7 separate regions of the Homo sapiens genome follow, and all the other regions are linked to region 7. The links are contacts of gene promoters, found by promoter capture Hi-C in blood cells and fetal thymus (Javierre and others, 2016). All regions are on one chromosome and are shown on one strand. The core of a region is centred on a gene start or on the middle of the fragment in contact, and the rest is flanking DNA. Distances in the headings are between cores, read along the strand shown. Region 1 overlaps ELOVL6 (ELOVL fatty acid elongase 6). Region 2 overlaps SEC24B (SEC24 homolog B, COPII component). Region 3 has its middle 5.8 kb from the start of SEC24B. Region 4 holds the start of CASP6 (caspase 6). Region 5 overlaps MCUB (mitochondrial calcium uniporter dominant negative subunit beta). Region 6 overlaps GAR1 (GAR1 ribonucleoprotein). Region 7 holds the start of TBCK (TBC1 domain containing kinase).

Region 1 (3,460 bases), core at 748-3,247, 3.9 Mb before region 7:
TGCTGGCTAGCCCCGGGCCCGGGTCTTCTCCGCACATGTTTGTCATATCCTCCAGCCGGCCTGTTCGGGCCCACAGTCCTCCCGCATTAGCCTGTGTGGTCAGTGTGGTCAGCATTTGCTTCTGTGCCGAATCTCTGACTTGCTGCGTCCTGGTTTAACCTGCTCTTCCGGAGTCCGCTTTCCCTCGCTTTGCTGGCTGACCCCATTCACTGTACGCCCGCCATTCCTAGCCCACTGCAGTCGATACTGCCTCTTATTTACTTGTTGCTTTTTCTCTGAGGCCACTTCCTAGGCCTGCTTCAGGTACCATTTCCCGCCTCTTCTCTCCATTCACTCAGTACTGAGCCAGACAGGTCTCAGCCCTCGTGGGACTGAAAATGACAAAAATGTGCCAACGTATCTACTCCTGTTAGGTTCTGACCACTGTTTCCTCCTAGTTCTTTATCTGTACCTTTCTTCTGGCAATATCCTTTACTGTTATATACATGGTTATTAACTTACAGACCATCAGCTCTTCAGGTTACGGTTCTTGTCATCCCACTCTTGATTCTGCAAAGCACCTAGCAGAGTGCTTTGCATAAGGCACATTCTTGAGAAAATGTCCAGTGAGTTGAAATGGTGATTGGTGCCCATTTTATTGCCAGCACTACTCGTTAATACCCGAAGGTTAACAGGCTAGAACTTGCATACCGTGGCAGAGTCACATCTTGGGATTTTTCCCTTCCTGGCTTCTGCTCTCTGTTGATGTTATGTTCTTAGATTGCTTATTGCAGTCAAAGAACCCTGCTGGCTGTTACCCCTCCCTTGCAACTCTTCCTGACCCTAATTGTCTTACTTTCATGTTTTTTTTTAAATGCCAGATTTTGTGCATTTCTCCCAATATCCCAGGGTGCCCAATTTTATCTCTCCTCCCTCCCCAAAAACTGTACAGCCAAAAAGACTTTAAACACTTTTTAAAATTTAATTTTATTAGCCGGGTGTGGTGGCTCCTGCCTGTAATCCCAGCACTTTGGGAGGCTGAGGTGGGTGGATTACCTGACGACAGGAGTTCGAGACCAGCCAGGCCAATATGGTGAAACCCCATCTCTACTAAAAATACAAAAAAATTAGCCGAGCGTGGTGGCGGGTGCCTGTAATCCCAGCTACTCGGGAGGTTGAGGCAGGAGAATTGCTTGAACCCGGGAGGTTCAAATTAAAGCTTTTAGTTTTTATTTTTAATAGAATCCAGCTAATGCAGGACAAAAAGTCTTGAACCAGATTTTCTTTTCACTCCCTTTTTAATAGGAGAAGGGAACTCCATAACCAAGGCTTAGACCCTCTTGAGGAGAGAGGAACTTGAGGAAACCATAAAATCTTACCTTTTTCAGACTCATTAACTTAAAATGGTTTGAAATAGCTTCTGGAGGAAAAACATGATATAGTGAAGCTTCTACTCTGTCTTTTGGGAATTTATGGTTGTCCTTATAAATCTCTTCTTAGTAACAGGCAAAACTTGTTAATTTAGAGAATTAAAACATCCTCTCTCAAAAGTGAACTACATTGGCTTTTGAAGAACTGTGAGAATGGCCAGGAGTAGTATTTTGCCAGTATGCTGCCTTTGCTAACTAGCATCATTTAAGAGGACCTAAAATAAGAATACTTTATTAAACATACGCTATAATCCATACTTACTAACCATAGCGCAAATTAATGTTAACATACCCTATAATCCATACTTACTAACCATAGCACGTGTTAATGGAATGGGGCCCGACTTTTGGAGTAGCATTTGTATAAACCCTAAAGGGTTCAACTGAGGCTAGTTTTCAAGTTTATTGCTGCTTTAATGAATCATTAACCTCATACTCATTGGCCTAGCCATGAAAGTAAATACTGCAGACTTTTTTTACTTTGCTAGCAAAAAGTTTCATATATAATAGGTTAGAATAGCAATTGAAATGCAAAGTAATAAGTGTATTCCCTTGTAGAATCATCCTGGGCCTCATCTTGAAACTACATGTCCAGTGAAAAATATCCTGTCTGGTTATATTATCTGGTCAATGAGAGTTTATTACATGAGGTAGAGAAAAATGTCTGCTCATAGGTCCAAATAGGAGTTTTGAATTCTAATTTTCACTGAAAAGTCCTTGCAATTTTACAACATTGAAAATAGAGACATTTTGCTCTTTTATGAGATGTCTGGCCTTTACCTGTTTTTCTCACTAAGAGCTGACTTAAGTTGGAAGTGCTGCTAGCCAGGGAGCAAAATCACCTGGTGATTGCTAAGGCGACATATAATTCATTGAGTGAGAAGGGAAGCTGGGCTCTCTCTGCCTTCTCTTTCAGCAGCCTGCCAGGTTTGTGCTAACAGCAGTGGATGCTAGTTGCTCCAGTTGTAATTGTCTAGCCAATGATGATTATCTTCTGATGTCGGCTGACACGGTGCCCACCAATAGGAAAGCAGGAGGCCTGTGCTGACTGCTGTAACATTATGTATGTGAGGTGACGTCTTCAAAGGGCTTGCCTAGAACTTCATGAAACCCTCCCCCTCTCCTGGCATTCTCCACACATCCAGCCTTTCAAAGCTTTATATATTTTTCTGACTTTTCTCCCCACTCACTCCCTTGGTGGTGTAAAAGGGTTTACTTGTTTTAACATTTTGTATTCTGTATTATAGAGTCTATAAGATAGTATAGGAATTTTAAGAATTAAATGCTGTTCAGCTGAGGAAGCCTTTTTATTCACAAATTTGTTTTTACCAAAGGTAAAAATGGAGTGAAACATTTTATTTTATTTTGTTTTATTTTTGAGACAGGGTCTCACTCTGTTGCCCAGGCTGGAGTGCAGTGGCACAATCTTGGCTCACTGCAACCTCTGCCTCCGGGTTCCAGTGATTCTTATGTCTCAACCTCCCAAGCAGCTGGGATTACAGGTGCCTGCCATGACACCAAGCTAATTTTTGTATTTTTAGTAGAGATGGGAATTCACCGTGTTGGTCAGGTTGGTCTTGAACTCCTGACCTCAAGTAATCCGCCCACCTCGGCCTCCGAAAGTGCTGAGATAACAGGCTTGAGCCACTGCAACCGGCCGTGAAACATTTTAAAAGGAGTTGTACATCTATATCTTTTTTGTAGGTGAAGTTTGGAAAGTAACACGATGTACAATTTCATGATTAAAGAACATAAAAAGCACTAAAAACCTGTGTTAGCATTTAACTCAAATATAGCAGCATAAAAAATATAGCAGCATAATGTTAATGAAACTGTTCAAATGCAGACATAGTATTTGGCTGTTGTTTTTCATTTAGTGAGGATTGCTTTGAATTGCTTCCTGAAGTCTTCCTTGCAACCTTCTACATTCATTTGTAAGAAAAATGGCTGGAAAACAGTGCATCTGTGACTATGGAACAGAGTAGGCCAGAGTTTCATTTCATCATTAACATTGCAGCAACAAATTTGGTCAGCTCTGTAGGAATATAGTG
Region 2 (3,032 bases), core at 388-2,887, 3.1 Mb before region 7:
AGCTGGGGAACCCATTATTCAGCCTACCACATCAGGTATCAATGGCAGATTCTCACACAACTATATTATGATTTCACTTTATGGAAAGCAAGTTTAGAATTCCACTGATTCTAAAATGCACCCCAATTTCAGAGGTAAAAAATGTAAAAAAAAAAAAAAAAAGCATCTTAGAATAAATTAATTTGATTATTGCACTCCCCAAATTGCCCAATACAATGCCTTACATAAGCATCAAATAATCACTGAAAAACTAAAACAGGCTGGGTGCGGTGGCTCACACCTGTGATCCCAGCACTTTGGGAGGCTGAGGCAGGGGGATTGCTTGAGTCCAGGAGTTTGAGACCAGCCCAGGCAACATAGTAAGACTTCATCTCTACAAACATGAAATAAAAAATTACGCAGGTGTGGTGGTTTGTGCCTGTAGTCCCAGTAACTTGGGAGGCTGAGGTGCTAGGCTTGCTTCAGCCCAGGAGATTGAGGCCGCAGTGAGCCAAGATTGCACCACTGCACTCCAGCCTGGGTGACAGAGTGAGACCCTGTCTCAAAAAAATAAATAAAATAAAATAATAAAAATAACAGGCTGGGTGCCGTGGCTCACGCCTGTAATCCCAGCACTTTGGGAGGCTGAGACGGGCGGATCACGAGGTCAGATCGAGACCATCCTGGCTAACACAGTGAAACACCATCTCTACTAAAAATCCAAAAAAAAAAAAAAAAAATTAGCTGGGCGTGGTGGCGGGCGCCTGTTGTCCCAGCTGCTTGGGAGGCTGAGGCAGGAGAATGGTGTGAAGCTGGGAGGCGGAGCTTGCAGTGAGCCGAGATTGCACCACTGCACTCCAGTCTGGGCGACAGAACAAGACTCCGTCTCAAAAAAAAAAAAAAAAAAACAAAGAAAGAAAGAAAAAACTAAAAAAATGGCCAGACGTGCTTGTAATCCCAGCACTTTGGGAGGCTGAGGCAGCAGACTGCTTGAGTCCAGGAGTTCAAGACCAGCCTGGACAACAGAGTGAAACTCCATCTCTACAAAAATTACATAAAATTAGATAGGTGTAGTGGCGCACACCTGTAGTCCCAGCTACTCAAGAGGCTGAGGTGGGAGGATCACCTGACCCCAGGAGATCGAGGTTGCAGTGAGCAGTGATCGCTCCAGCTTGGGTGACAGAGTGAGACCCTGTGTCAAAACAAAAACAAACAAAACAAAAAAATTCAGTTTTTATATAATCTCTGAAAGAATTTTATATTCTTAGCTTCAAGTGAACTATGTCAAATAAAAGAGGGAAACAGATGATTCTGACACATTATCTACTCACTGGTACCAATCTGAATGAAGAAATAAAATATTTTTAACAAATGGTCTATAATATTTTCAATGGAGCTGCTCAGCTGGTCAGCCTGACTGATATATCATGTGCCAGCAAGATACAGCCTATGATTTTCTATAAGCATGTATGCCCTCCTTAGCAGGACTAAATTATCACAAGATCTACCCCCAGGACATATCTGTCTCAGTAGCATAACCTCCTTTCAGACACCAGATTCTCACCAAAGGAAAACTGATTCTCTTGCTTTAAGAAAACCTAACATGAAAATTAAAATTTATAAAACAAATATTTCATGCAAGTCTAGTCCCTGTACCAAAAAAAAAAAAAAAAAAAAATCACAGGATCTCTTTAGGGCATATGAAATACGATTTGGTTTGAAAAATTCTCTACCTGACTTCCCTTTATTCTACTTTCACTTCCCTCTAATTCATTACTAACACCACCAGAGTACTTTTTAACATTCCTTACCACACAATCTTTAATGGCTCTTCTTTGATCCAAATGAAGTCTAAACTTCTTAGGACAATTTCTAGGAACTTCCATTAGCAGCCCCAACATAATTGTAAAAACTATTCTTTTTTTTTTTTTTTTTTGAGATGGAGTTTAGCTCTTGTTGCCCAGGCGATGGCATGATCACGGTTCACTGCAACCTCCACCTCCCGGGTTCCAACAATTCTCCAGCCACAGCCTCCCAAATAGCTGGGATTACATGCACTCGCCACTACACCCAGCTAGTTTTGTATTTTTAGTAGAGATGGGTTTTTACCACGTTGGCCAGGCTGGTCTCGAACTCCTGACCTCAGGTGATCCACCCACCTCAGCCTCCCAAAGTGCTGGGATTACAGGCATGAGCCACCACACCGGGCCCAAACCATTCTTTCATTACTCTCTCTCCCTTGTACCCCTGCACTGCTCAGAGTACGTTTTTTAAATTCCTTACCTTTGATTCATGCATTTTTACCTGACAATTCAAAATGTGTCCATCATTTTAGATATAGCTGAAGTTCTAACTTCCTCCCTTAAGATTCCCTATTACTTTAACCAAAAAGAATTGTTTCCTCTTCAAAACTCTGGGCACCCTTCTCACAGGCCTTATGAAGGAAACACATGTTCAGTGCTGACAGTCCTCTCCTCTTTTACTGAGGGGTACAGAACTCCTGGAGTGCAGAGAACATTCACATTTGTATGCCCAGAGTATCTAGCACAAAATGTTATGTAAAGAGGAGCTACATAAATATTTGCTAGGAATTGTAAATTAAATTTATAGGCCAGGCATGGTGGTTCATGCCTGTAATCCCAGCACTCTGGGAGGCAGAGGTTGGAGGGTCACTTGAGCCTAGGAGTTTGAGACCATCCCAGGCAACACAGTGAGATCTCGTCTCTAAAATAAAAGTTATATATAACTGTTAGGATTACATATGCATTGCATAAAATAAGGTTCAGGTGTTTAAGATCAAAATTGATGGTAAATGAGATAATCGGAGGGACAAAGTTCTTAAAAGAGAGGGAACAGAATTCTGTACCCAAATAATCTGAATTTGTCTCAGATAACACAAGAATAATATGCAGGAAGACTGACAGATTTGGTGGCAGAAGATTAATACTTTATCTTCAGATTGTCAGATTGCTTTCAATTTCTTAGTAAAATAAGTAAGGTCACCATTGGAAAGGGAGGCAGAGAGACAGGATACTGAGAATTTGAGGGAAAAG
Region 3 (3,199 bases), core at 375-2,874, 3.1 Mb before region 7:
TGACACAATTAGTTACATTGAACAACCCTATGTATTCCACTGGAAATATGATAAACATAGTCCACAAGTCTCTGCCATCTGAGAAATTTATAACCTAGTATTCTGAAGGAAATAAAGTGAAGGGAACTGTCACATACCGAACACCTGCTTTATAACTTGAAAGCGCTTTATGACATCACCATATATCAGGACCAAAACAGATATTCATAGATTTGGTCCTCAATTGCAAAGAAAAATTAAATTATGTTCTGTACTCTGTTTCAGAAGACCAGAGGAATACAGAACCCATTTTGGAACTTTAGAAACTCTTACATATGAACAGGTTAGGTTCCAAAATTTCCATTGTTCGTAAGTCCCAATACTCACAAGTTCGGAGTAAGCCACATATGCATTTCCAGAAAACAGAAAAGTGAGGCAGTCCTTTGAAACTTTAGAACAAAGCTTACTCTTCTTTTTACTGATATAAGTTGTATAGTGGTGCAACCCAGACTAAGGCGCATATGAATCTCTTGATGATCACGTTAAAATGAAGATGCTTATTGGGTAGGGTTAGAATGACCTGAGAATCTGCATTTCTAGCAAGCTCCCAGGTGATGCTGATGCTGATGCTGCTGATCCATGGACCACACTTTGAGTAGCAAGGTTCCAAAGGGCATTTTTTGTTGGATTTACATTTGAAGTCCCTTAAGGAAGGAAATGCCCCTCCTTAATGAGCCTAAAGGAACTTCTTAGCAGCTGGCGTATATTCACACCTGCTACCACTCATGTTGATGTTGTACAGATTAAAATGTGCCTAGCGCTCTTGCTTTCCATAACTTTACTTTCTTAGGCCTTTAAGATACTTGAACCATCTCCTAATGGGTTAATGGGTGCCCAGAGTTGACACTGATCCTCTCATCACATGGTCAACAGTGTGTACATTTTGTCAATTACTTTTCTTCTTACTGATTATTGTTATATAAAAATGGTGAATTAGTCTGCTTTGGCCACCATAACAAAATACCTTAAACGAGGTGGCTTAAACAACAGAAATGTGTTTTCCCACAATTCTGGAAGCTGGAAGTCTGAGATGAGAGTGCCAGCATGATCAGGTTCTGGTAAAGGTTCTCCTCCTGGCTTGTAGATGGCCACCTTCTCACTGGTCCATACATGGCAGGCAGAGATGGGGAGAGAGAAAGTTGTCTGGTGTCTCGGTATAAGGGCACCAGTTCTATTGGACAAGGCTCTGCCTTTACGACTGCATTTAACCTTAATCACCTCCTTAAAGGCCCTCTCTTCAATATAGTTACATGTGGGGTTAGGGCTTCAACATATGGATTTTGGAGGTACAGAATTCAGTCCATAGCAAATGGCATTTTCATATGGCATGAGTCACTCTTTGCTTTTCAGAATTGTTCCCAATTTCAACTGGGTCATACCACTTTATTGTATATTTATTACTATGAATTTTCATTTTTCAATCTCTGCTTTTTTAATCTTCACATCACTCTTACTACCACCTTCAAAATTCTCACTGCTTTCTCACTGACATCAATGTTGGGATTAATATTTATAAAGCACATTTTAAAACATAAACTCATAATAGGCCCCAAATTAATAAAAAGATGACCTACATCAGGGCACCACTACACCAGGGCACACTGAATGAGTGCAATTCATTAAAAGATGTATTAAGATATTAATCCTCTTCAGACATTGGGACAACTAGGGGGTACTCAAGTGATCCTCAGGCTAGTCTCCTTTGGCTGCAAGCATCCTTGTCTTTTACCCAACAAAAATATCCTTATTTTCTAGCTATGTTATAACATGAAGAGGCTGGGAAGCACTGCCCTAGACTAAAATTACTAAATTACTGTGCACAATCTTCAGTGCCATCTGCTGGAAGGAGACAAAGTTACTATACTATGGTTCTAGAAGGTAGATTTATGTATTCGTTCATTCATTTGAGACAGGGTCTCACTCTGTTGCCCAGGCTAGAATGCAGTGGTGCAATTACAGCTCACTGCAGCCTTGACCTCCTAGGCTCAAGTGACCCTCCTGCATTAGCCTCCCAAGCAGCTGGGATTACAGGAGTGCACCACCACACCGGGCTAATTTTTTAAAATTTTTAGTAGAGGTGAAGTCTTGCTGTGTTGCCCAGGTTGGTCTCTCAAGTAATCCTCCAGCCTTGGCCTCCCAAAGTGCTGGGATTACAGGTGTGAGCCACCATGCCCAGCCTAGATTTATTTTTATGTATAAAACTAAGTTAAAAGATCATACGAAGGGGTATTTCTGTGTTACAAAGGATTGGTTTTAAAACTTTTTTTACTAGTTGAAAGGATAAACTTCAATTACCTGAAAAATGTAAAACACAACTGTTTCTTTAAAAGAGAAAAAGCTAGACAAAAAATGTTGTTGGGGCAGACACAGTGGCTCACACCTGTAATCCCAACAGTTTTGGAGGCCAAGGTGGGAGGATCACTTAAGCCCAGGAATTTGAGACCAACCTGGGCAACAGAGTGAGACCTTGTCTGTACAAAAAGTTAAAAAATTAGCCAGGTGTGGTGGCGTGTGCCTGTGGTCCTAGCTACTCAGGAGGCTGAGGCAGGAGGACCACTTGGGCCTAGGAGGTCAAGCCTGCAGTGAGCCATAATTGTGCCACTTACACACTCCAGCCTGGGCAGCAGAGTGAGACTCTGTCTCAAAAATAAATAAATAAATAAATAAAATTGTTGAACATACTAATTCAGTTAGAAAGGACACACTTTTAAAAAAGAATATTGATAAGTCAGAGCACCACTATGATGGCAGGGTGTTTACAAAGCTTGTGGTACACCATATACAAAAATCAACTCAAAATGGACTAAAGACTTAAAAACCTGAAACTATAAAACTAATAGGAGAAAACATAGGGAGAGATCGTGCCACTGCACTCTAGCACAGCGACAGAGTGAGAGTCTGTCTCAAAAAAATGAAAAAATTAAAAGATTTTTCCGTATAACAACTTTCTTCTTCACTAACGAAAAGTAGAAATCTAGTATAGTCCTGTAGACAGTTTCTATGTAATAGATTAAAACAAGTTAAAACAGGAATTTCTCCCATAAGATTCTCTCCTTCTAAATACAACAGAGTAGAAGGGGCAGGTGTGGTGGCTCATGCCTATAATCCCAGGACTTTGGGAGGCCAAAGCAGGAGGATCGTTTGAGACGGGAGTTTGAGA
Region 4 (3,054 bases), core at 437-2,936, 3.4 Mb before region 7:
AAGAGCATCAGCCTGTTCTTTGAAGCTTTGAAGACAGGCATTGACTTCTCTCTAGCTATGAAAGTCTTAGATGGAATCTTCTTCCAATAGAAGGCCGTTTCATATACATTTAAGATCTGTTGTTTTGGCTGGGCACGGTGGCTCACACCTGTAATCCCAGCACTTTGGGAGACCGAGGCGGGCAGATTGCTCAAGGTCAGGAGTTCAAGACCAGCCTGGCCAAACATGGTGAAACTCTGTCTCTACTAAAAATACAAAATTAACCTGGACATGGTGGCACATCCTGTAATCCCAGTTACTTGGGAGGCTGAGGCAGAAGAATCGTTTGAACCCAGGAGGCAGAGGTTGCAAAAGATCGCACCACTGTACTCCAGCCTTGGTGACAAAGCAAGACTGTCTCAAAAACAAAAGATTGTTGTTTAGTGTAGCTGCCTTTATCAATGATTTTAGCTAGATCTGGATAACCTGATGCAGCTTCTACGTTAGCACCTGCTGCTTCACCTTGCACTTTTATGTCATGAAGATAGTTTCTTTCCTTAAACCTCAGGAACCATCCTCTCTGCTAGCTTCCAGCTTTTCTTTTGCAATTCCCTCACCTCTCTCAGCCTCCATAGAATTGAAGAGTTAGGGCCTTGCTCTGGATTAGGCTTTGGCTTAAGGGAATGTTGTGGCTGTTTTTATCTTCTATCCAGACCAACTAGAACTTTCTCCATATCAGCAATAAGGCTGTTTAGCTTTATTGTCTTTTGTGTGTTTACTGGAGTAGCATTTTTAATTTCCTTCAAAATTTTTTCCTTTGCATTCATGACTTGGCTTTTCTCCTTTGCACTCACAACTTGGCTAACTGGAGCAAGAAGCCTAGCTTTCTGCCTACCAACATTACTTCCTCACTAACTTAATCATGTTTGCTTTTGATTTAAAGTGACAGGCTCTTCCTTTCATTTGGACACTTAGAGGCCTTTGTAGGATTATTAGTTGGCCTAATTTCAAAATTGTGTTTCCAGGAATAGGGAGGCCCCAGGAGGGGGAGAGAGAAGGGAAAGTTCGGTGGAACAGTCCAAACACATACAGGGCTTATGGATTAATTTCCCCTTCCTTTATGAGCGCGGTTCATGGTGCCCCAAAACAATTGCAATAATATTAAAGATTACTGATCACAGATCACAACAGCAGACATAATAACAATGAAAAATTTTGAAATATTGCGAGAGTACCAAAATGTGACACAGAGACACAAAGCGAGCCAATGTTGAAATACAGGCAGTATCTGCTAAGCGGTATAAAACAATCTATGCCTGTACCTCTAGAAAGTACAGGCATAGCAAAGTAAGGAATAGCAAATGTTTGGGGCAGCTGGGATTAAATGAGTCCGAGCTCACACAAGTGATGTGAAATTGCCTCGGGCTAGGCGGTCTGTGTGTCCCCCCGGGTGGCAACTGGCATGTCCCCAGGGCACGGTTAGTCCCAGCGGGCCTGGAGGCGAAGACCGCGTACCTCTCCCTGCCCCCGCGCTCTTGGTCCCCGCGGGCTCCGGAGCGACTGGGAGGAGCTTTAACTCTGGGAAGGACCAGCCCGATCCACGGGAGCCCGGGCGGCGCGCAATCAGAACCAACTGGCCCCACGCTCGGGGGCAGGGGGCGGGGCCGCCGAGGAAGGGCCGAGGGCGGGGCCGGGCCCGGGAGCCTGTGGCTTCAGGAAGAGGAGGGCAAGGTGTCTGGCTGCGCGTTTGGCTGCAATGAGCTCGGCCTCGGGGCTCCGCAGGGGGCACCCGGCAGGTAGGCAGGGGGCGTCGACTGGGCACCGAGCAGGTCTGCGTCTTGCTCCGGCTGGAGGGGAAACGAGGGTTAGTGGACCGGGCGCGCGGACCGGAGTGGGGCCGCGGGTTCCTTCGGCTTTGCAGGGCGGCCTGGAGAAGTTGCACTCTTGGATTGAAGCGCTCAGGGCGGGTGGGGACGGTTTCGCGCTTCAGTCTAAGAAACACTCGGGGACCTGGCTGCCGCCTCCTGGCGGTCCCGAGTAGCGACGCCGGCGCCGGGGCGTGCCCCTGCCGCCTTTGTCCTCCGGGGCGATGAGCGCTTTCGGGGCGCCCCGGCTGTTTAAACCTTAAAAGGCTGTCCCCACGCGGGCCTGGCGTTCCCCCACACCTGGCCGTTTGAAATGTTGGGGGTTGGATCTTTTGTTTGCTCACTTCGAAAAGTGAAAAGGAGGGGTTGTTCCGCCGAGTCATAATGAAAACATAACAGGCCCGCGGGGTGCCCGGGCCAAGACCCTGGGTCCTCCCGGGCTTCAGCTGGAGGCGGCCAGTTCCTGGCGGCCAGCACACCCCGGTATCTCTCTTCTTCATCCAGGAAACCTGCTGCTGTCTGTCGGTTTGAGCCAAAACCACAATAACTTTTTTCTGCAAAGTAATCAACTGCTAAGAGCGTACGTTCTGTCACTTATTACTGGTAAAGTTTAGAAACTTCAAGCCTGGCCAGAGTGAAACAAACAAAAAGGTCGAAACGCCTGCAGTTGGCCGGCCGTGGTGGCTCACGCCTTGTAATCCCAACACTTTGGGAGGCCGAGGCGGGCGGATCACCAGAGGTCGGGAGTTCTCGACCAGCCTAACTAACACGGTGAAACCCCGTCTCTACTAAAAATACAAAAAAATTAGCCAGGCCTGGGCGCAAGCTACTGGGGAGGCTGAGACAAGAGAATCGTTTGAACCCTGGAGGTGGAGGTTGCAGTGAGCCGAGATCGCCCCACTGCACTCCAACCTCGGCGACAGAGTGAGACTTCGAATCAAGAAGAAAAAAAAAAAAAAAGAACGAAACGCCTGCAGTTGGTTAGAGTGCCTTTGTTTAAGAACTCTTTATATTTTGCTGCACAAAGGAAATGGTGCTCCAGAGGCAAGCTGTAAAAGTCACATGGTCGTAGAGGAGGTAGATAGGTAGCCTTGTCCTGGAGGCACAGTGCAGGGTCCAGTTGCAGTCTCTAGGGGCGGGAAGCCGGGGCTTTCCTTCACTCACCTGCTCCCTTCCTCTTCTTCCTCCACCGCACTCCCCAGTGCATGTT
Region 5 (3,371 bases), core at 264-2,763, 3.3 Mb before region 7:
AGCCTCCCAAAGTGCTGGGATTACAGGCGTGAGCCACCACACCCAGCCTGACCGTTCTTTATAAAGTTAAATATACATTTATATGTGACCCAGTAATCCCACCCCTAGCTCTTTACCCTAGAGAAATGAAAGCTTATGTTCATACAATTTGTACAAATGCCATTTCATTTCCTCCCACTAGAGTGCATACTCCCCAGGAGCAGGCAGGGACTTGGTCTGGTTCACTGCTGTATCCCCAGCACCTAGAATGGCGCCTGAAACATAATAGGGGCTCAGTAAATACACGTTAAATAAATGCAGGAATGTTTTCAAGATGCTAAGGAAAATAATTACCAACCTAGAATATTATGCTCAGGAAAATTACTTCAGGCTTGCTGTGATTTGATTGTGTCCCCCAGAGTCCATGTGTTGGAAACCTAATGCCCAATGCAACGGTGCTGGGAGGTGGGATCTAATGGGAGGTGCTTAGGTCATGAGGGCTCCACCTTCATAAATGGATTGATGCCAATTATAAAAGGGCCTGAGGCTGCGGGTTTGATTGAGCTTTCTCTCTCCGCCTCTTGCCCTTTCACCTTCTGCCATGGGATAATGCAGCAAGAAGAACCTGACCAGATGCGACCTCTCAATCTTGGATTTTCCAGCCTCCAGAACTGTGAACTAAATACATTTCTGTTCATTATTAATTACCCAGTCTATGGTTCTGTTACAGCAGCACAAAAGAGATTACAGCAAGGCTGAAAGAAATGAGTTTTTCAGGTATAATCAAGATTATGGCTTATTTCCACAGATTTTTGCTAAAGAACTTCTTCAGGAAGAAGAGAACTAAACTCAAGTGGAAGCTGAATAGAACACTATTATGAGCTGAACTGTGCCCCACCCCCTGCAAATTCATATATTGAAGTCTTAACCCCTAGTACCTCAGAATGTGACTGTACTTTAAAGAGGTTAAGTTAAAATGAGGTCATTAGTATAGGCCCTAATCCGACATAACTGGTGTCTTTACAAGAAGTGGTGATTTGGACAGACATGTACACCCAGAAGAAAGACGGTGTGAGGACACAGGGAGAAGACAGCCATTTACAAAACAGCCATGTACAAGCCAAGAAGGCTTCAGAAGAAACCAACTGAGCCAACACCTTGAACTTTAACTTTTGGCCTACAGAAGGGTGGCGAGGAAGGTTTCTAAACAGTGGAGGCGCAATTAGTGTGGGTGTCATAGCCCAAATGGGATGAAGACGGCCTCCACATGGGAAATAGGCTCAGAAAAAAATGTTGGAGCCCAGTTGGGGTAAGAAAGCCATCTCTGCAGGGGAAGGAGTGGTAGTGGAGATGAAAGACTGTCACATGCAGAAGAAAAAAATATATCAAGAATAATGGAAGTCAGATTTATCCTGTGCAAGAATGGAACTACAATTATGGAAAGGGAGTAGAATAAACCCTGTAGTGTTAGACTGAAGTACTGGTGTGAATTCATGGTTTTTAATGTGTAATAATGTAAAGAAATATAATTAAATGAAATTAAATATAAAATTTTTAAAAGATGCAAATGTTTAATGTACGTGTGTATGTAAGTATAGAAATTTTAAATTTTACATATTTATGTTTTCATACTGACATATATATGTATATGTATATTCTCTTTCTGAGAGAGCCTATGAGCAGTGGCACTTCTAATAACATCTAGCATCTAGCTCTTGGCACCAGATACTATGCTTACCTAAGAGGAAGCAAGCCTCCTTGGAGAAATGGCTATTCTAGGGCTGGGCATGGATAAGGACAAAATGAACCTAGAGCATCTTGCTGTACTAGAAAGCAAGGAAGTGCTCAATGGATGATGGAAGACTTATCAAAAGAACCCAGAAGGCAGGTCAAAGGGTGTCCCTGTGGTAAAATCTGGAACAATTTTTAGCATTAAATAATGATAGTAACAAATTATAATCCACTGAAGGAGATAGGAAACCATGAGTGTATTCTGACATAATTAACTGAATAAATTTAAAGTTTAATAAGGAATGAGATATTTACACAGTTTTAAAATGCCTTCACACAAAAGCATTAATCCCAAAGGAAAAATAATAACTTCAAAGGGAAGAAGCCTGACAGATACCATCTTAATTGATCAAAATTAATATTATCAGTAATGGGGTGAGTTGAAATCATGCAATGAGAATACATGGGACACTTTTGAGATATTCCCGACAAAGATGCTATATAATCTGAAGCAAATCACAAGGAAATACCAGACAAACCCAAACAGAGGCATTCTACAAAATAATTGTAATCTTTAAAAGAGTCAAATCATGAATGTCAAAGAATGTTGTACTGATCCAGAGTGGAGGAGACATGACAACTAAATTAAACTGTGATTCTGAACTTCTGCCAATAAAGAACATTATTGGAAAAATTGGCAAGATTTTAATGAGGTCTAAAAATTAGATGGTGGTTATGTACTAACATTAATTTTCCTATTTTGATGGTTGTTTGTCATTAAGTTGGAGAATGTTCTTATGTTTCAGGGGAACTGGCATCAAGTTTGCAATGTATTCTCAAATAGTTCAGAAACAAAATAGTCTTCCCACTGTGGTTACAACTTTCTTTATGTTATGTTTGAGACTGTTTCAAAATCACACAATTCTGAGAGACTGGTAGGCCAGGGTAAAAAAAATTAATAATTCAAAAACAATAGGTTTACAACACCAAAATTACCATATACAAAGATAAGTGATTAATAACAAGGGGTCAAATATTAAACCTTTTTTGCATGCCAGTAGGAAACTATGGTTACTTGGGAAATTGAAAATAAAAAATTTTTTAAAGCAAAGACACTCCTGTACAAGTTTTTATTTAGAAACCCCAAGAATATTGACAATCCTCAGACATGTTAGTAAAGCTTAAAAGAGAAACTACCATACCCTGTAACAACCCTTTTTAGAGGGTTATTATTAAAATTCTGAAAATCTTACACAAACCCATCATGCATGCAGAGCTGAATTTCAAGAATGACTCACCAAAACTCAGGTCTTCCTTTTAGTTTACACCTCACCTCAAACCCATCTTGAGGAGCCTACCATTCCCCCCTTGATAGGGGGATATGATAGTTTTGAATAAACAAATGGTATGAACCAAATCTGTTGCTTTTCATTTAATCCAGTTAGCCGGGCTGCTCCTCCATACCACACCTGGGTTCAGATTCCCCAAATCAGGCCCCACTTCTCAAATCTAAGGATTCTCAGGATGAGTCCTTAGATTTAAGAAGTATAATGAGTCCTAGCTGGACGCAGTGGCTCATGCGTGTAATCCGAACACTTTGGGAGGCTGAGGCAGGAAGATTATTTGAGCCCAGGGGTTCAAGACTAGCCTGGGCAACAGGG
Region 6 (3,035 bases), core at 519-3,018, 3.5 Mb before region 7:
ACCTCACTATGTCCAAAACCCAACTCATTATCTTCCCCCAATCCCCCTCCTCTGCATTGTTGCCCATTTCATTAATTGGTACCATCACCCACAAAGATGTTGATGTCAGACATCTGAAAGATGGTGATTTTTTTACTTCTTCAATTTCAATAGCTAGTCAATTACCAAGTCCTATTGATTCTACTTCCTGTATCTTTCATAAATCCATTTTTTCCATTTCCACTGTCACTACCGAGTCCAAAATACCATCTCTTTTAGAACTACTATTATAGCCTCCTATCTGGCCCCTCTCACACAATATTGACCGCTTCCCAAGGTGCCTTTTTATCTTCCCAGTATTCTTTTGAAGCATTCATTTAACTGTGTTATCCCATTATTCAAAAATAAAACACAATTGAAACTAAGGTCTAAACTCTTTCCTGTCACCTGAAGGCTTAAGTTAATCAAGCCCCCTCCTACCTCTCTGGTCTTAATTCACAACTTTCCCCACCTCTCCTAAATGTTTCATTCCTAACCTATATGTCTGCCTTTTTGTATCCTTTCAGTTGCCTGCTCTCAGAGACTGCACATACTGTTTTCTCTACTTGGAATGCACTTTCCTCTTCCTCTTTGACTAGCTCAGCAGCTCTCAAGTGTTTGACTAACTACATCAAAATTATCCAAGTGCTTTTCCTTTTTAAAATTGAATCCTGGACGCTACTTAAGAGCTCCTAGGTCAAATTTCCAGAAGTGGAAACTAGAGATACATCTTCTTAAAAGCTCCCCAAGATAACTCTGACATGCAACCAGGTGTGGAAATCACTGTTAGTCAACAATCAGGCCTCAGCTTCAAGCTCACTTTTTCAGGAAACACTACAGACTTAAAAAGCTGGTGGCACTACAAAGCTTCTCATGGCAACCTGTATTTTTCCTTCATAGCATATATCATGTTATTGAAGTTCTTGTGAAATCACTTAGTACCTACCGCCTCTCAAATAACGTAAGTTTTACAAATTAAGATTCTACCTAGAATGTTTGGTCATGAAAGCTTTTCAATAAGAGAGTTTTACATAAACAAAAAACTCTTACTCTAGCAGTTTACAGATTTTGGTAATATGAGCAAAAGTTGTAATTTTTACTTTCTAAAGGCTGTATCAAATAAATCACTTTTAAAGATTAGTGTGTTCAATATTTATAGCATGGAACATTTCAATTTAAGAGCTTTACTAGTGATATGTTGGGAAAGTCTCAAGTGCTCCAAGTAGGACTTTCCTAAGATAGGTCGTTCCCTTATAAAACCAAGGATCCCAAGTATCATAAGTTTGACTCACCTTCTGTAGTTTTTTAAAGGATGAAGCCTTCATGTTTTCTGACAACTTAACTGAAAAATACTATTATTTTCATTAAGGAACAAATGAGCAATTAAGATGAAAGATGATATCAAATGTTCTGAATTCATGTATAATTTCAAAAACAAGGTTAGAATGTATGGATATATATAGGAAAGATAAGAAATGAATTTCCAGGGGCTGGGCGTGGTGGCTCACACCTGCAAACCCAGCACTTCGGGGGGCCAAGGCGGATGGATCACTTGAGGCCAGGAGTTTGAGACCATCCTGGCCAACATGGTGAAACCCCACCTCCACCAAAAATACAAAAATCAGCCGGGCATGGTGGCGCTCACCTGTAATCTCAGCTACTTGAAAGGCTGAGGCACGAGAATTGCTCGAACCCAGGAGGCGGAGGTTGTAGTGAGATGAGATCGTGCCACTGCACTCCACCCTGGGCAACAGAGTGAGTCTCTGTCAAAAAAAAAAAAAAAAAGGAAAAAAGAAAGGAAGGAAGGGAGGAAGGGAGGGAGGGAAGAAGGCAGGGAAAGAGCAAGAGAGAGAAAGAAAGAGAGAGAGAAAGAGAGAGAAAGAAAGAAAGAGAGAAAGAGAAAAAGAGAGAGAGAGAAAGGAAGGAAGGAGTTTCCAGAGTAGTGGGGGCACCAAACAACTTCTAATTCTACATTTCCAGTGGCACCACTACATCCAAATCAGCCAACTTAATCCTGTAGTACTTATCCAAATGGCCATCATTAATAGAATTTTCCAAAAAAAAAGTCACCGTTCTAGGGTCTGTCATTTTAATATCTATGGATGAATACATTCTCCCCTTGATTCTCCTTCATGGTCCAATCTGTAGCAATCCTGTCTAATTTAATGAAGCAACAACTTTAATTTATACTTAACTGCCTCCTCAGAAAAATGCAAATAGCAACCTTTGAATATTATCAGGCCTTCCAATGAAAAAGGATACAAAATCTCTGAGTTGTCCAAATATTTCATCCACTTTTCCAATTTGTTCTTTGTTTTCTAAGTAAACAGGAGCATTGAAATAAGGCACCTTATTTTCATCTGTGGTACATTTACAAACTATGTCATCTTCACAGGGATGCAGGAACTCTCCTAATACTGAAACAGGACAAGAAAATGTTAAAACATAGAACTATTTCAAACGATACTGACCAACTGCTTCTGGAAGCTTTCTTTTTGGCTACCTGGGACTTCACCATAACTGCTCTCCTCTGAGGCAGAAGACCACAGTCTTAGGACTTCCTGGGCTGGTATACCAACTCCACAACACACTAGCTATTTGACCTAGGAGAAGTTACCCACCCTCTCTCTAATTCAGTGTCTCATTTTTAGTATGCACTAATAACATATAATGTATAGCTATACCTAATATACAGTAATGTAAGCACTCAATGGAATAACAAATGTCAAGTGCTTAGAACAGTGCCTGGCACACTGACACCATTCAACCTGTAACAGTTATGTTATTACAACTTATTATCTGATTCAAAACTCTGCTTCATTCTCTTGGTTCTCCCTTTTCTTCAATGCCTAACAGAATCAGCCTTCATTCTTTTTTTTTTTCTCTTGCCTTAGAACTTTTCCATTCCCACTACCACCTCTTTAACAATGATTCATTGTTTTCAAGGACATCTGGAATCTCAAAATAACTACCTTTATTTCTAACTAGACTGTCACCCCAAACTAAAATACCACATT
Region 7 (3,383 bases), core at 485-2,984:
CTTGGCCTCCCATGACCCTCTTACCTCACAATAAGGCCATCTTTTACCTGGTTAAGATTTGCAGACTAGACCCATTACATACCTTGTCATTAAATACCTATAATATACCCTAACCTTTGCAATCTTGACAGATGTGATTTCCATTTTATAGACAGATCCAGGAAAATTACATGACTTATCTGAATCCCTTCAAGTACCACATAGCAAAGCCATGATTTTAACTTGTGTTTGCCACTCTGAAACTCACACTGGAATTCATTTTTCAAGTGTCCTCCAAAGCCTAATTAAATAAAATTAACCCTGTCATCTATAATACTCTTACATATCCAAATTAAGTGCATCAAGAATATAACTGGCCATTTCTTACCACCCATAGTCAAACCACCATTATGCTTCCTCTGGATTATTGCAAAACTCTTCTTATTGGTCTCCTTTCTCCTACCACGTCCTCCTCTGTGTATTTTCCTTAAAGAGTGACCCTCTTAAAAGGAAGTCAGAGCCCATCACTCTACTGCTCAAAACGCTCCAAAGTCCTATTTCATTTAGAATAAAAGTTAGATGTCCTCAAGATCTTCATGACCTGCTCGCCTTGATTTAATCTCCAGTGAAGGACTAAACCCTTCACTCAACTCTGCCCTACAGGCCTCCTTGCTATTCTAGCACGTTTCTGCTTCATGACCTCTGCAATGGCTGGTCCCTCTGTCTGACTGCACTTTCCCAAGATATTCGCGTGGTTAAATCTCCCACTTCTGTCAGCCCTTTACTTAAAAGTCATCTTTTCAGCAAGACCTTCCTGTGTCACTTTATACCCTTCTTCCCTGCTTTACGTTTCTCTTCAGGACTATCACGACCTAAAATACAGTATGTTTCTAATTACTTTGCTTAGTATGTGCCTTCCTCTCTAAAATGTGAGCTACAAGTAGACACAGATTTCCGTCTGTTTTGTTCACTGCTGTTCACCTAATGCCTAGAACGGTGTCTGGAATAGAGTGGGCGCTTAATAACTATTCGCTCAATGAATAAATTCCTGTCTTCACCCTCCTCTCCCCCAAAGCACCTAAGTCCTTTGACACACACATTCACATAACAGTAAATACGCTTAGGGATCGATATTTTTCTGTAGCATTCTTAACTTAGGCCTGCATCCCATTTCTCAAACGTGGCTCCTTTAGAAGGAAGTCTCAAACTCTTTCCTGTTTCCTTAGGCCAGGGCTGGTCCTGCTGCGAACGGACTACCCATTAGCAGCGCAGGCCAGGTCCTCTCTCCTGGAGGCAAGTTAGAGAAGGAAGACCCCTACGATCGCAATCGGCGATCCCCGAGTGAGTGACCCGCCACGACGTCACTCACATGAAGCGGAGGACCACGGGTTCCGAGACAGCCACAGCAGGAAGCATGTAGGTCCAGCCACCCGCGTACTATAGCAGTGAGAAAGGACCCAATGAGGTGTCCTTGCTGAAAGCCTGAGTGTTCTACAGATTCAACCCTCAATTCTTTCTTCCTCTTCCTGTGCTCAGTCCCATTAACCTGCCATACCACGCTCCTCGTCTTCCATTCCCTCACCCAGTATTTTCAATCGACCCCCCCCGTCCCCCCGCACCTCTTTCTCTCTCGCTATATGTCCTTTCGTGGCCAGTTTGGGCAAGGGGAAGGACACCACAAGTCGGGGTCTTTCCTCAGCGTTGGGTCGCGGTGGCTGTGAGGGCGGAAGAAAAGGCCAGGCTGAGGGGAGGGTAGAGGGTGAAAAGCTCGGATCTGTGTTTGGGGAAGGCCAGGCTTGCGCTCCTCGCCGGGTTCCGCGAAGGTTAACCTTGGCTGACTTGGCTCGCGAGCAAAGGGCAGCGTCTGAGCTCCCGGCGTTCCAGGAGTGGCCTCTTTTGTAGGAGCACCTGAAATGCAGCGTCTGGTGCACTAAGCCGTAGCGGCAGCAGCAGCCACAGCGACAGCGCTGGGGCCCTGTGTAGAAGCTCCATCCCCCTTGTCTTTGTGCTTGCCTGCGTCCCCAGACTCAGAGGCAGGTATTTGGGTAATCCAGTTTTCCGTGTCGTAGTGGGTGGGGTCTGTGGGAGGTAGAGGACTATCAGGAGCAGTGAGTGGCCCCGCATGTCTTCAGAATAGATAGAGAACCGAGCTGTGGAGCCGCTTGCTGATAGGTACTGTCTCCATCCCTAGCTACAGCCCGCCTTTCCTGTAAATCAGGTTCACCTGAGTCGTTTGGGAACCGTAGGCTTAGTAATCGCTCTGTCACTGCCTCAAAGGAAGGCTAAAGGAGGTTAGAGAATCTAGAATCCGCCCCTCCATTACTCACCTTGGAGGCAGAATTTTGCTTTGGTTTGTTTCTGGCCCTCGAGGTTTAGTCAGTCGTCAAAGTGTAACACCCCCTTGAGCAGTAGGAGAAAGTGAAGCAGAGGAAGGAAGTTACTTGAGGATTGTCAGTGGCTGCTTTTCAAGGATCCCTGTCCTGGTTTCTATCTATTTGAGACAAAAATAACCTCTTGAGAGAATGTATATATAAAATAAATGAATTAGTATCATTTTCCTGTTGAAGAAATGTGAAATTTTATTCATGATAAAATCGGCGTCTTTTGCCCTATTTTTTACTTTCTTTCCCCATTCGAGTCGTTTAAAACTCTAAGTTCTTTGAGGGCACAGAGTCTGACTTGTTCATTATCCTTTGCCCACCAGCTGGAAAAACAACTGACTTAAAATAGGGGCTTCAAAATATTTGTTGAATGAATGAATTTTCAAGCCCAACTGCTTGCACTGCTGTTTCCCTCATCTAATCTCTCATCTCTACGTTTTTTTTCCCCCGGTAGTTTTCTTCCACTCACGAGGTGTAAGTGAATGTATGTGTGTGTATTTTTGTGTGTGAGCCTTTTTATGTACAACCATTTAAGAGGTAGTGGAAAAAGAACACTGATTATGCTAATTAGTGTTTTATCTTTTTCGATCATTGTGTTTTATTTGGTTATTTTATTTTCAGCTATGTGATGATAAAGACATCTGATTGAAAATAAAATGGTCGGGCGCGGTGGCTCACGCCTGTAGTCCTAGCACTTTGGGAGGTCGAGGCGGGTGGATCACCTGAGGTCAGGAGTTCAAGACCAGCCTGGCCAGGATGGTGAAACCCCGTCTCTACTAAAAATACAAAAATTAGCCGGGCGTGGTGGCGGGCGCCTGTAATCCCAGCCACTCTGGAGGCTGAGGCACAGAATCGCTTGAACCCGGGAGGTGGAAGGATGCAGTGAGCCGAGATCATGCCACTGCACTCCAGCCTTGATGACAGAGTGAGACTCTGTCTCAAAAAAAAAAAAAAAAAAAAAAAAAATCAAGTAGTATAGCGTAGTAGGATTGAATAATAAAGTGCAACTGTCTCACCTGTCCT

Evidence for each region. The method cuts DNA at HindIII sites, captures the fragments that hold promoters and counts their contacts. A CHiCAGO score of 5 or more calls a contact.
Region 1: a contact is called between a fragment that was not itself captured here and the fragment with the promoter of TBCK in region 7, in 5 of 17 cell types (total CD4 T cells, naive CD8 T cells, fetal thymus and 2 more). The highest score is 11.4, in total CD4 T cells.
Region 2: a fragment that was not itself captured here is called in contact with the fragment with the promoter of TBCK in region 7 in 1 of 17 cell types (naive B cells); the score reaches 6.3 in naive B cells.
Region 3: a fragment that was not itself captured here is called in contact with the fragment with the promoter of TBCK in region 7 in 1 of 17 cell types (total CD8 T cells); the score reaches 5.4 in total CD8 T cells.
Region 4: a contact is called between the fragment with the promoter of CASP6 here and the fragment with the promoter of TBCK in region 7, in 2 of 17 cell types (naive CD8 T cells and naive CD4 T cells). The highest score is 6.3, in naive CD8 T cells.
Region 5: a contact is called between a fragment that was not itself captured here and the fragment with the promoter of TBCK in region 7, in 1 of 17 cell types (activated CD4 T cells). The highest score is 5.8, in activated CD4 T cells.
Region 6: a fragment that was not itself captured here is called in contact with the fragment with the promoter of TBCK in region 7 in 3 of 17 cell types (total CD8 T cells, total CD4 T cells and naive CD8 T cells); the score reaches 9.5 in total CD8 T cells.

The regions. Positions count from the first base shown.
Region 1 is chr4:110,192,931-110,196,390 of GRCh38, reverse strand. The region is part of intron 1 of ELOVL6 (ELOVL fatty acid elongase 6); the gene reads left to right. Among named protein-coding and RNA genes, the nearest start is that of ELOVL6, 4.0 kb to the left of the region's middle. RefSeq lists a silencer at 1-49 and an enhancer at 1-78. The HindIII fragment of the contact is 1,138 bases long and covers 1,429-2,566 here.
Region 2 is chr4:109,443,098-109,446,129 of GRCh38, reverse strand. The region is part of intron 1 of SEC24B (SEC24 homolog B, COPII component); the gene reads right to left. Among named protein-coding and RNA genes, the nearest start is that of SEC24B-AS1, 11 kb to the right of the region's middle. The HindIII fragment of the contact is 4,493 bases long and covers 1-3,032 here.
Region 3 is chr4:109,426,381-109,429,579 of GRCh38, reverse strand. No RefSeq gene overlaps it. Among named protein-coding and RNA genes, the nearest start is that of SEC24B, 5.8 kb to the left of the region's middle. The HindIII fragment of the contact is 2,362 bases long and covers 444-2,805 here.
Region 4 is chr4:109,702,077-109,705,130 of GRCh38, reverse strand. It overlaps CASP6 (caspase 6), which reads left to right and starts at 1,686. Exons shown (of 7, transcript NM_001226.4): 1 at 1,686-1,775. The coding sequence starts at 1,736. RefSeq lists enhancers at 1,265-1,314, 2,205-2,264, 3,025-3,054 and silencers at 1,475-1,764, 1,915-2,024. The HindIII fragment of the contact is 4,197 bases long and covers 28-3,054 here.
Region 5 is chr4:109,649,772-109,653,142 of GRCh38, reverse strand. The region is part of intron 1 of MCUB (mitochondrial calcium uniporter dominant negative subunit beta); the gene reads right to left. Among named protein-coding and RNA genes, the nearest start is that of CASP6, 52 kb to the left of the region's middle. The HindIII fragment of the contact is 2,758 bases long and covers 135-2,892 here.
Region 6 is chr4:109,817,336-109,820,370 of GRCh38, reverse strand. GAR1 (GAR1 ribonucleoprotein) reads right to left here. Exons shown (of 7, transcript NM_018983.4): 3 at 2,281-2,435; 4 at 1,311-1,370. Among named protein-coding and RNA genes, the nearest start is that of GAR1, 3.1 kb to the right of the region's middle. The HindIII fragment of the contact is 1,478 bases long and covers 1,030-2,507 here.
Region 7 is chr4:106,314,560-106,317,942 of GRCh38, reverse strand. It overlaps TBCK (TBC1 domain containing kinase), which reads left to right and starts at 1,734. Exons shown (of 26, transcript NM_001163435.3): 1 at 1,734-2,012. AIMP1 (aminoacyl tRNA synthetase complex interacting multifunctional protein 1) reads right to left here and starts at 1,393. Exons shown (of 7, transcript NM_001142416.2): 1 at 1,349-1,393. RefSeq lists enhancers at 1,185-1,434, 1,925-1,984, 2,065-2,154. The HindIII fragment of the contact is 5,300 bases long and covers 1-3,383 here.